Regions from separate parts of the Homo sapiens genome. Here region 2 is linked to region 1. The links are contacts of gene promoters, found by promoter capture Hi-C in human tissues and cell types (Jung and others, 2019). All regions are on one chromosome and are shown on one strand. Each heading gives the region's core, a stretch centred on a gene start or on the middle of the fragment in contact. The rest is flanking DNA. Distances are from core to core; before and after follow the strand shown. Region 1 holds the start of FUT6 (fucosyltransferase 6). Region 2 holds the start of CAPS (calcyphosine).

The links. Contacts are between HindIII fragments. The study calls those that stand out against the background at their distance.
Region 2: the fragment with the promoter of CAPS here is called in contact with the fragment with the promoter of FUT6 in region 1 in 5 of the 25 tissues and cell types used here (IMR-90 fibroblasts, aorta, bladder and 2 more).

What each region holds. Positions count from the first base shown.
Region 1 is chr19:5,837,483-5,841,622 of GRCh38, reverse strand. FUT6 (fucosyltransferase 6) reads left to right here and starts at 1,921. Exons shown (of 3, transcript NM_000150.4): 1 at 1,921-2,946. The HindIII fragment of the contact is 16,612 bases long and covers 1-4,140 here.
Region 2 is chr19:5,912,020-5,916,159 of GRCh38, reverse strand. CAPS (calcyphosine) reads right to left here and starts at 1,906. Exons shown (of 5, transcript NM_004058.5): 1 at 1,851-1,906; 2 at 1,671-1,775; 3 at 1,420-1,597; 4 at 1,014-1,220; 5 at 1-939. The coding sequence starts at 1,753. The coding sequence ends at 838. RANBP3 (RAN binding protein 3) reads left to right here. Exons shown (of 17, transcript NM_007322.3): 17 at 1-21. The HindIII fragment of the contact is 10,666 bases long and covers 1-4,140 here.

The DNA of each region.
Region 1 (4,140 bases), core at 672-3,171:
GGATCTCACATGTGGTTCATGGCACGCCCAGCCCGTGGGGCCTTCTCCCTCCTCCTGGGCACCAGCTGCCCTTGGCTCCCAGCCCTGGGCCCCAGGGGGAGAAAAATTTCCAGCAGGCTGGCAGCTCCATCTCCCACCCAGCCCTGGCCAGGGAAGGCACTGGAGGGTCCAATGAGGGCCAAGACCCCAACGAGGTGCACAGATGGCCTAACTGCCCCTGCAAGCCTCAAGCAGGTCCTAGCTTGCCCTGAGCCTGAGGGAAGAGGTCCTCATGATACCCTACTCTGGGCTCTGGGCTCAGCTCCTTGGCAGGGAGGTCCCACCTGGCACTGGTATGGTGAGCCCTGCTCAGAGAGGACCAGGAAACCTCTCAAGTCACACAGCAGTTTCAGGATGAGCACACGTTCTCTCTGGCACCATCCCTGAGGTCAGCCCAAGGTCCTCCACCCTCCCTTTGCCCAGCGATCACATCGATGGAATGACTAGAGCCCTACTGTCCCTCACTAGAGACCTACCTTTGGATTTTGAATCCTTAAGAAACAACCCAGCTGGGGGCGGGGCGTGGTGGCTCACGCCTGTAATCCCAGCACTTTGGGAGGCCGAGGCGGGCGGATCACAAGGTCAGGAGATCGAGACCATCCTGGCTAACATGTCTCTACTAAAAATACAAAAAAAAAAAAAAAAATTAGCTGGGCGTGATGGCGGACGCCTGTAGTCCCAGCTACTTGGGGCAGGAGAATGGCGTGAACCCAGGAGGCAGAGCTTGCCATGAGCCGAGATCGTGCCACTGCACTCCAGCCTGGGCCACAGAGCGAGACTCTGTCTCAAAAAAAAAAAAGAAAAAAAACCCAGCTGGGCGGAGTGGCTCATGCCTGGCCTCTAATCCCAGTACTTTAGGAGGCTGAGGCAGACAGATCACCTGAAGTCAGGAGGTCAAGATCAGCCTGGCTAACATGGCGAAAACCAGCTCTATTAAAAAAATACGAAAGTTACCCAGTGCCGTGTCACGCGCCTGTAGTCCCAGCTACTCGGGAGGCTGGGGCATGAGAATCGCTTGAGCCCGGGAGGCATAGGTTACAGTAAACTGAGACTGTGCCACTGCACTCCAGCCCGAGTGACAGAGCAAGATTCCATCTCAAAAAAAAGAGAGAGATAGGGGTATCTCTGTTTTCCCTAGGCTGGTCTCAGACTCCTGGGCTCAAGCGATCTTCCTGCCTCTCCTTCCCAAACTGTTGGGATTACAGGTGTGAGTCACTGTGCATGGCCTCAGAAGTCTTTTTTTTTTTTTTTTTTTTTTTTGAGACAGAGTCTTGCACTGTCGCCCAGGCTGGAGTGCAGTGGCTCAATCTAGGCTCACTGCAAGCTCCGCCTCCCGGGTTCACACCATTCTCCTGCCTCAGCCTCCCAAGTAGCTGGGACTACAGGCACCCACTACCACGCCTGGCTAATTTTTTTGTATTTTTAGTAGAGACAGGGTTTCACCATGTTAGTCAGGATGGATGGTCTTGATCTTCTGATCTCGTGATCTGCCCACCTCGGCCTCCCAAAGTGTTGGGATTACAGGCGTGAGCCACCACGCCCGGCCCCCAGAAGTCATTTTTTTAATAAGTTACAGTCAACCTCACCAGTCAAGGAATGAGACATGAGTGGAATTAGGTTGCCACTTCTGGAGCTCTGGGAGACCCCAACCCCCTGGCCCATCCCTACCTCCCAGAACCTCACTGGTCTGGGCGTGGCTGGGCACTGAGATAGTAGAACTCAGGCAGCATGATGCAGCCTCCCAGAAATGATTTCTAGAACAGGGCAGTCGTGATACTTGGAGGCTGGGCTTTGAGCTCGGTCACCTTTGCACCCAGCTTGGGAGTGAGAGAGTTTAAGGTCATCCTCCCTCAAAACCAGTATTCCAGATCATTTCTCTCCATTCCAGGAAGTTTGCATAGCTCCCTGGACTTCTGCTTTGCACTGCCCTGCAGGAGTGGGTGGGGAAAGGAAGTGGCTTTGAGGCACACAGAGGGGCTTGTTGAGGCCACCGGAGGAAGCTTCTGCCACCAATATGGGACCTGTGCCCAGCCTACCAGAAGAGAGCATCTGAAAACATGTATCGACATGGTAACCCCTCTGCTTGAAGCCTCACATGGCTCCCTATTGCCTTGGTGCTGAACACCCTATGGCTGACCGTGGCCCAGCCTCTGCAACAGCTCTGCCTCCTCTCCAGTGGTGAAGACCCAGCCTGCTGAGACTCCTCCTGCAGTTCCTCAACATGCCTGCATTTCTGCTGCCTCAGGGCCTTTGCGAAGGTTGTTCCTTGTAACTGGAATGCCCTTCCATCCCTTTTTTATTCAAAAGGCTGCAATTTTAATTGAAGAAAGTTCCCTTCCAAGGTTCATGAGTTGCCTGACTTGCCCACCGGTTTCCTGCAAGATCCCTTGGCCTGGCACTTAGTGCTCAGGAAATATTTGGTGATGGGCCAACTGAGTGAGAAGGTGGGATCTGGTGGGAAGGAAAGCGGAAAGGTAGAAATTCTGCTCACTTCCTCATTCCCACCTCCCAAGGAACCCCTGGTGTCCCTGTGGAACCCGCTTTGGGAACCGGTGGTTCAGGTCAGCCTTTTCACTTTGTACTCAAAGCCACATCGCATTGAAGCCACAGGTGGGGCAAGGTCATGCATGACCTGAGTCTCCAAATCCCTTCACCCTGTTTGGTTCTGCAACGGGGATTAGGGGAGCCCCACGATTTGTTTTCAAAGGATGTCCGGGCTCCAGGACAGGATGCCCTGGGTCACCTGATGACAGGTGTGGTGGTTGGAAAGGGCCTGGTTTCAGCTCCGGGTACACTTCCTCCTTCCTTCTGCTGCGTGGTGTGGCCTCTTCCACGTCCTCAGAATCCAGCTGTTACTCCGTCCGCGGCCTCTCAGCTCTAGGGCCCTCTGCACACTGGCCCCCCCAGGTAAGGCCTCTTGTCCCACTTTCACCCCCAACCCGGATCGCATGGGTCCAGGGAAAGGCCTCCTGGCTCCGAGCCTCCTCCCCTCAGCCTCAGTCCTGTCTGCTGTAATTCAGAGTGCGGGTGGGCTGGCACAAGATCCCTGGGGGAGGGTCTGCAGGCTGTGCAGTGGCCTGGCATTTGGCCAGCAGCCCCTAGTCGCAGGCAGGGGTCTTTCTGGATGCACCGAGGTGGGCTGAGGATATGGGAGGTCTGGCTGATTTGCCAAACCAGGAGGAAGTGGGTGTCTGTCTGTCTCTCTTGCAGAGCTCTGCGGTAGAATCCCGTGCCCCCCGACCCCATCAGCAGCCTACACCCCTTCATCCTTCCTGGCCCCGGATTTTCTCTGCCTCTGCCACTCCCGGTGGTAAAAGAGGGCTTAGAATGCGGTTTGCTTTCTGGCTTTGTTTTTTTGCATCCTGATCTTTGTGGCGTGGATCGATCATTTTCCAGGGAAAGTACCTTGGGTGAGATCTCTCTCCTGGACTCCCGTTCCCCGTTTCCCCCAATCTCCCCTCCTGAAGGTCACCGGCAAAGACTTCACTGTCTCCTAGGAAGAGGTCGCCATAAACCCAGGGGCCACATGATAATATATTAATATTAAATGTATCTCTAAACATTAACCTTTCACTGGCAGCCCAAGAGCCCGACAGCACAAAGGAATACTTGGTTAAAATTCAACCTCCCTCCCAGTCCGGGCTCTGAGTGTCCCTCGAGGGCTGTCTCTTGAGTCTTTTTCCAGAACTTTGGTATGCGCTTGTGCTCTCAATCCCTTCTCATCACACCTAGGTCACCATGCCTGGAGCTCCGCTATGCACCATAAGGTTTAGACCAACTCAGTTTATTTATTTTATTTTATTTTATTTTATTTTTTTGAGACAGAGTCTCGCTCTGTTGCCCAGGCTGGAGTGCAGTGGCGCGACCTTGGCTCACTGCAAGCTCCGCCTCCCGGGTTCACACCATTTTCCTGCCTCAGCCTCCCGAGTAGCTGGGACTACAGGTGCCCGCCACCGCGCCTGGCTAATTTTTTGTATTTTTAGTAGAGACGGGGTTTCACCATGTTGGTCAGGACAGTCTCTAACTCCTGACCTCAGGTGATTCGCCCGCCTCCACCTCTCAAAGTGCTGGGACTACAGGCATGAGCCACCGTGCCTGGCC
Region 2 (4,140 bases), core at 657-3,156, 75 kb before region 1:
ACATTAAACTTTTAACTAAAACCCTGGCCTCTGCATGCCCCAGGGGCCTCAGGAAGCCCCTGACCAGGAACGGCCTCCACCTCCCCGGGCGAGGACCTCCAGCAGCCTGGGGCCTCATGCTCCCACCCAGCGTGTCACCAGTGCTGGGGTCCAGCCACAGCCCTGTTCTCTCCACCACCACCCGCACTTTACCCCCACCCCTGCTGCAAGGCCCCGCCGGTCTGCCCCCGCCCAGAGCTCCCAGCCTCGGGCCGCTCACCAGAATGTAGATACTGGGCCCGCTGGACATGTTACCTGCTATTTTTATTCCCCATTTGCCATCTTCTGATTGGGGGTTGATGTTTTACAGATTTTTTTTTCAAAGGCTTTATTTCAGTTTCTGAGGTTAGGATGCCCCTGTGCCCCTCGCTCCACACCTGGGCAGGTCTAAACTTCCTTCCAGGATGGCCTCCACACACAGCCTCCCACCTGGGGTCACCTGGCTTCCTGGGGGACCCGCAAGGGAGGGGCAGGGAGCAGCAGTCCGGGTGCGGGGATCGGGGGACCTCGGCGGGGGCATCCACAGGGGCTGCAAGATCTCTGGTCAGCATGGCGTGGGTGGGGAGAGCGTTTCTCCCTGGGGTCCTGAGCCAGTGACTCCTGTTAGGACCTTTGTCCCACCTCCGCCTGGTGGACCGGCAGGGACCTGGTCTAGCCAGTCCTGCAGCCTCCATTCCCCCACCTGCCCCTCCCCGCTCTGTGGTGTGGCTGCCCAGGAGAGAAGGGGCCCAGGGAAGGGAGGTCTCCGGCAGGGGTGGGGAGTGACAGGCCAGGGCAGCAGGGCTGAGCCGGAGCTGCTCACAGCTGCCAGGCACTGGTCATCATGGCCACGAACTCCTCATCCGTGTTCATGGAGGCACTCACGCCGCTGTAGTAGTCCTGGAATTCCGCCAGTGTGACCTGGGAACAGAGGGCCGTGAGGGGGCACGGCCGAGGAACTGCCTGGGGAGGGGGCCCCCCGCGCAGCCACCCACCTGCCCGTCCTTCTCAGAGGAGTCGAAGTTGTCCAGGAAGCGGCGCAGCACCTCGTCCTCGGTCCACTCCCCACTGCGCACCTTGGGGTGGGCACGGCCACTGTACACCCCGCGGAGGTCGTCCACCGTCACGACGCCGTCCCCACTGCGGTCCAGCTTGGCAAATGCAGCTGCGATGACAGCCTCCCGGGCCTGGGACATGGGGGGCTGGGACAGGAGGTGGTGACTGGGGGTGGTGGGTAGCACACCCAAACCCCCAAGACGCTGTGCAGAGCACTGGGGCTGTATGCCCCAGCAGGCGCCTCTTAACAGCAGCTCTTAGGGAGGAGTCCCCGTCTCCGCATCTCAGCATCCTCTGTCGCCCCATGCCCAGGGCACACGCCTTGACTGTGAGGTGGGGGCTCACCCGCAGCGCCCGAAGGAACTCCTCCAGATCCAGCGTCCCGCTGCCATTGCGGTCCCACTTCCTGCACACACCCTCTGCCTCCGCCTGGTCCAGCACCAGCCCGAGTTTGGCCAGACCCTGCCGGAACTCATCAGCGTCCAGGGATCTGCTCCCGTCCCGGTCTAGTTGGCGGAAAAACCTGGAGGCAGGGGACACGGTTGGAACAGTGGTCTCAGGGGCCGGGGTCAGGAAGGTGAGAGGGGACAGCTCACCTGGCCAGGCCCTGGATGCCCGAGGCCCCGCGGGACAGGCACTGTGCCCGGAGTTTCTCCATGGTGGCATCCACGGCGTCCATGCTTGGTCTGGGCTCTGGGCAGCTGGAAGGGAGAGAGGTCAAGGTGGGGACTCCCGCAAGCCCACCCTGGCCGACTGCCCCTTGTTCAGATGCTCACCTGGCCTGCGTCTGTCCCAGAGTCCTGCCTGCGGGGCCTTGTGTTAGCTGTGTTGTGCCTGGGGAGACTGTTGCTAGTGGAAGGTGCCTCTGGAGATGGGGTGGGGCCCAGCTGCATGAATGCACTGTGCTGGGCAGTGGGGAGTGGGGGAGGGATGGGTGCGCCCAGCCTGACTGCTTACTCAACTGCCAGCCCCACAGGGCCTGGGACAGAGCCAGATCCCTGTGGCACTGCATCCCTTCCTGGCTCCAAGGAGGAGGGGCAGGCCACTGCCCTGCAGGGGCTGAAATGCCCTGGATGGAGACAAGTCCGTGGCTGGGGAGGCTTGACGCATGATTCCTGTGTGACCCTGGACAGGTCCCTTTCCCTCTCTGGCTTCACAGGGGCTTCTCAGCCCGAGCCAGGGCTGACAAAATTGCTGAGGAATCAAAGTTCAAAAGGGCCCCAGGTTCTGACCGGCCACTGCGGCTCATGCCTGAAATCCCAGCACTTTGGGAGGTCTAGGTGGGAGGATCACTTGAGCCCAGGAGTTTGGACCAGCCTGGGGAACATATAGAGAACTTGTTTCTATTGTACAGCAACAAAAATGCCCCAGGTGGGCTGGGCGCGGTGGCTCATGCCTGTAATCCCAGCACTTTGGGAGGCCGAGGTGGGCAGATCACAAGGTGAGGAGTTTGAGACCAGCCTGACCAACATGGTGAAACCCCGCCTCTACTAAAAATACAAAAATTAGCCGTGCATGATGGTGGGCGCCTGTAATCCGAGCTACTTAGGAAGCTGAGGCAGGAGAATCGCTTGAACCCAGGAGGTGGAGCTTGCAGTGAGCCAAGATTGCACCACTGCACTCCAGTCTGGGCGACAGAGCAAGACTCCATCTCAAAAAGAAAAAAAAAAAAAAAGCCCCAGGTGGCCCAGGTCCTGGGGCCCTAAGACCTCCCACCCAGGCCCACCTCCAAGGGCAGGTCCTGCAACCCACAGAGACTGAGCTGAGCCTGAGGGACACCTCTGCTCACTGCCACAAAGCTTGTCACTGGCCGTTGTTAGGAGCCAGTCCCAGGATTTCTGTCTTTACGGATCTTTTGTTGTTGGTTTTCAGGCCTGAAACGTGACTTAGTGGGCTGGCTCCTGACAAGGTGGTGAGCCAGAGGTTGTGACCCCGAGTGGAAGAGCAGCCCTGATCCTGGACATAAACCTCAAGAGACGAAGCCACCTCACTGAAGGCCTTCAACGGAGACATCGGATATACCTGCCCGCTAAGATAGGTGGGTTTTCCAGGACTTGAAACGTGGGCCCTGTTTGAGGACCCACTGTTCGCCCCGACCCAAGGATCATCAATCGGAGCCTTCTCCAAGCCTGGCTTTACCTCGCTCACAGCACAATTATATTGTCAGAAGTTGCCTTGCCTGAGCGCGGTGGCTCATGCCTGTAATCCCAACACTTTGGGAAGCCAGGGCAGGAAGATCACTTGAGCCCAGGAGTTTGAGACCCGCCTGTGCAACATAGTGAGACCCCCCCATCTCTACAAAAACTACAAAAAATTAGCCAGGCATGGTGGTGTGTTCCTGTAATCCCACCTACTTGGAAGGCTGAGGCAGGAGGATCACTTGAGCCCGGGAGTTGGAGGCTGCAGTGAGCTATGATCGCACCACTGCACTCCAGCCTGGGTTACAGAGCAAGACGCCCGCCTCTTAAAAATAAGTAAATAAACTGGCCGGGCACGGTGGCTCACGCCTGTAATCCCAGCACTTTGGGAGGCCGAGGCGGGCAGATCATGAGGTCAGCAGTTCGAGACCAGCCTGGCCAACATGGTGAAACCCTGTCTCTACTATAAATACAAAAATTAGTCAGCCGGGTGCGGTGGCTCATGCCTGTAATCACAGCACTTTGGGAGGCCGAGGCAGACAGATCACCTGAGGTCAGGAGTTTGAGACCAGCCTGGCCAACATGGTGAAACCCTGTCTCTACTTAAAATACGAAAAACTAGCTGGGCGTGGTGGTATGTGCCTGTAATCCCAGCTACTCGGGAGGCTGAGGCAGGAGAATTGCATGAACCTGGGAAGCGGAGGTTGCAGTGAGCCGAGATCGTGCCATTGCACTCCAGACTGGGGGACAAGAGCAAGACTTTGTCTCAAAAAAAAAAAAAGAAAATTAGCCAGGTATGGTGGCGGGTGCCTGTAATCCCACCTACTCCAGAGGCTGAGGCAGGAGAATCACTTGAACCCAGGAGGCAGAGGTTGCAGTGAACCAAGACCATGCCACTGCACCACAGCCTGGGCGACAGAGTGAGACT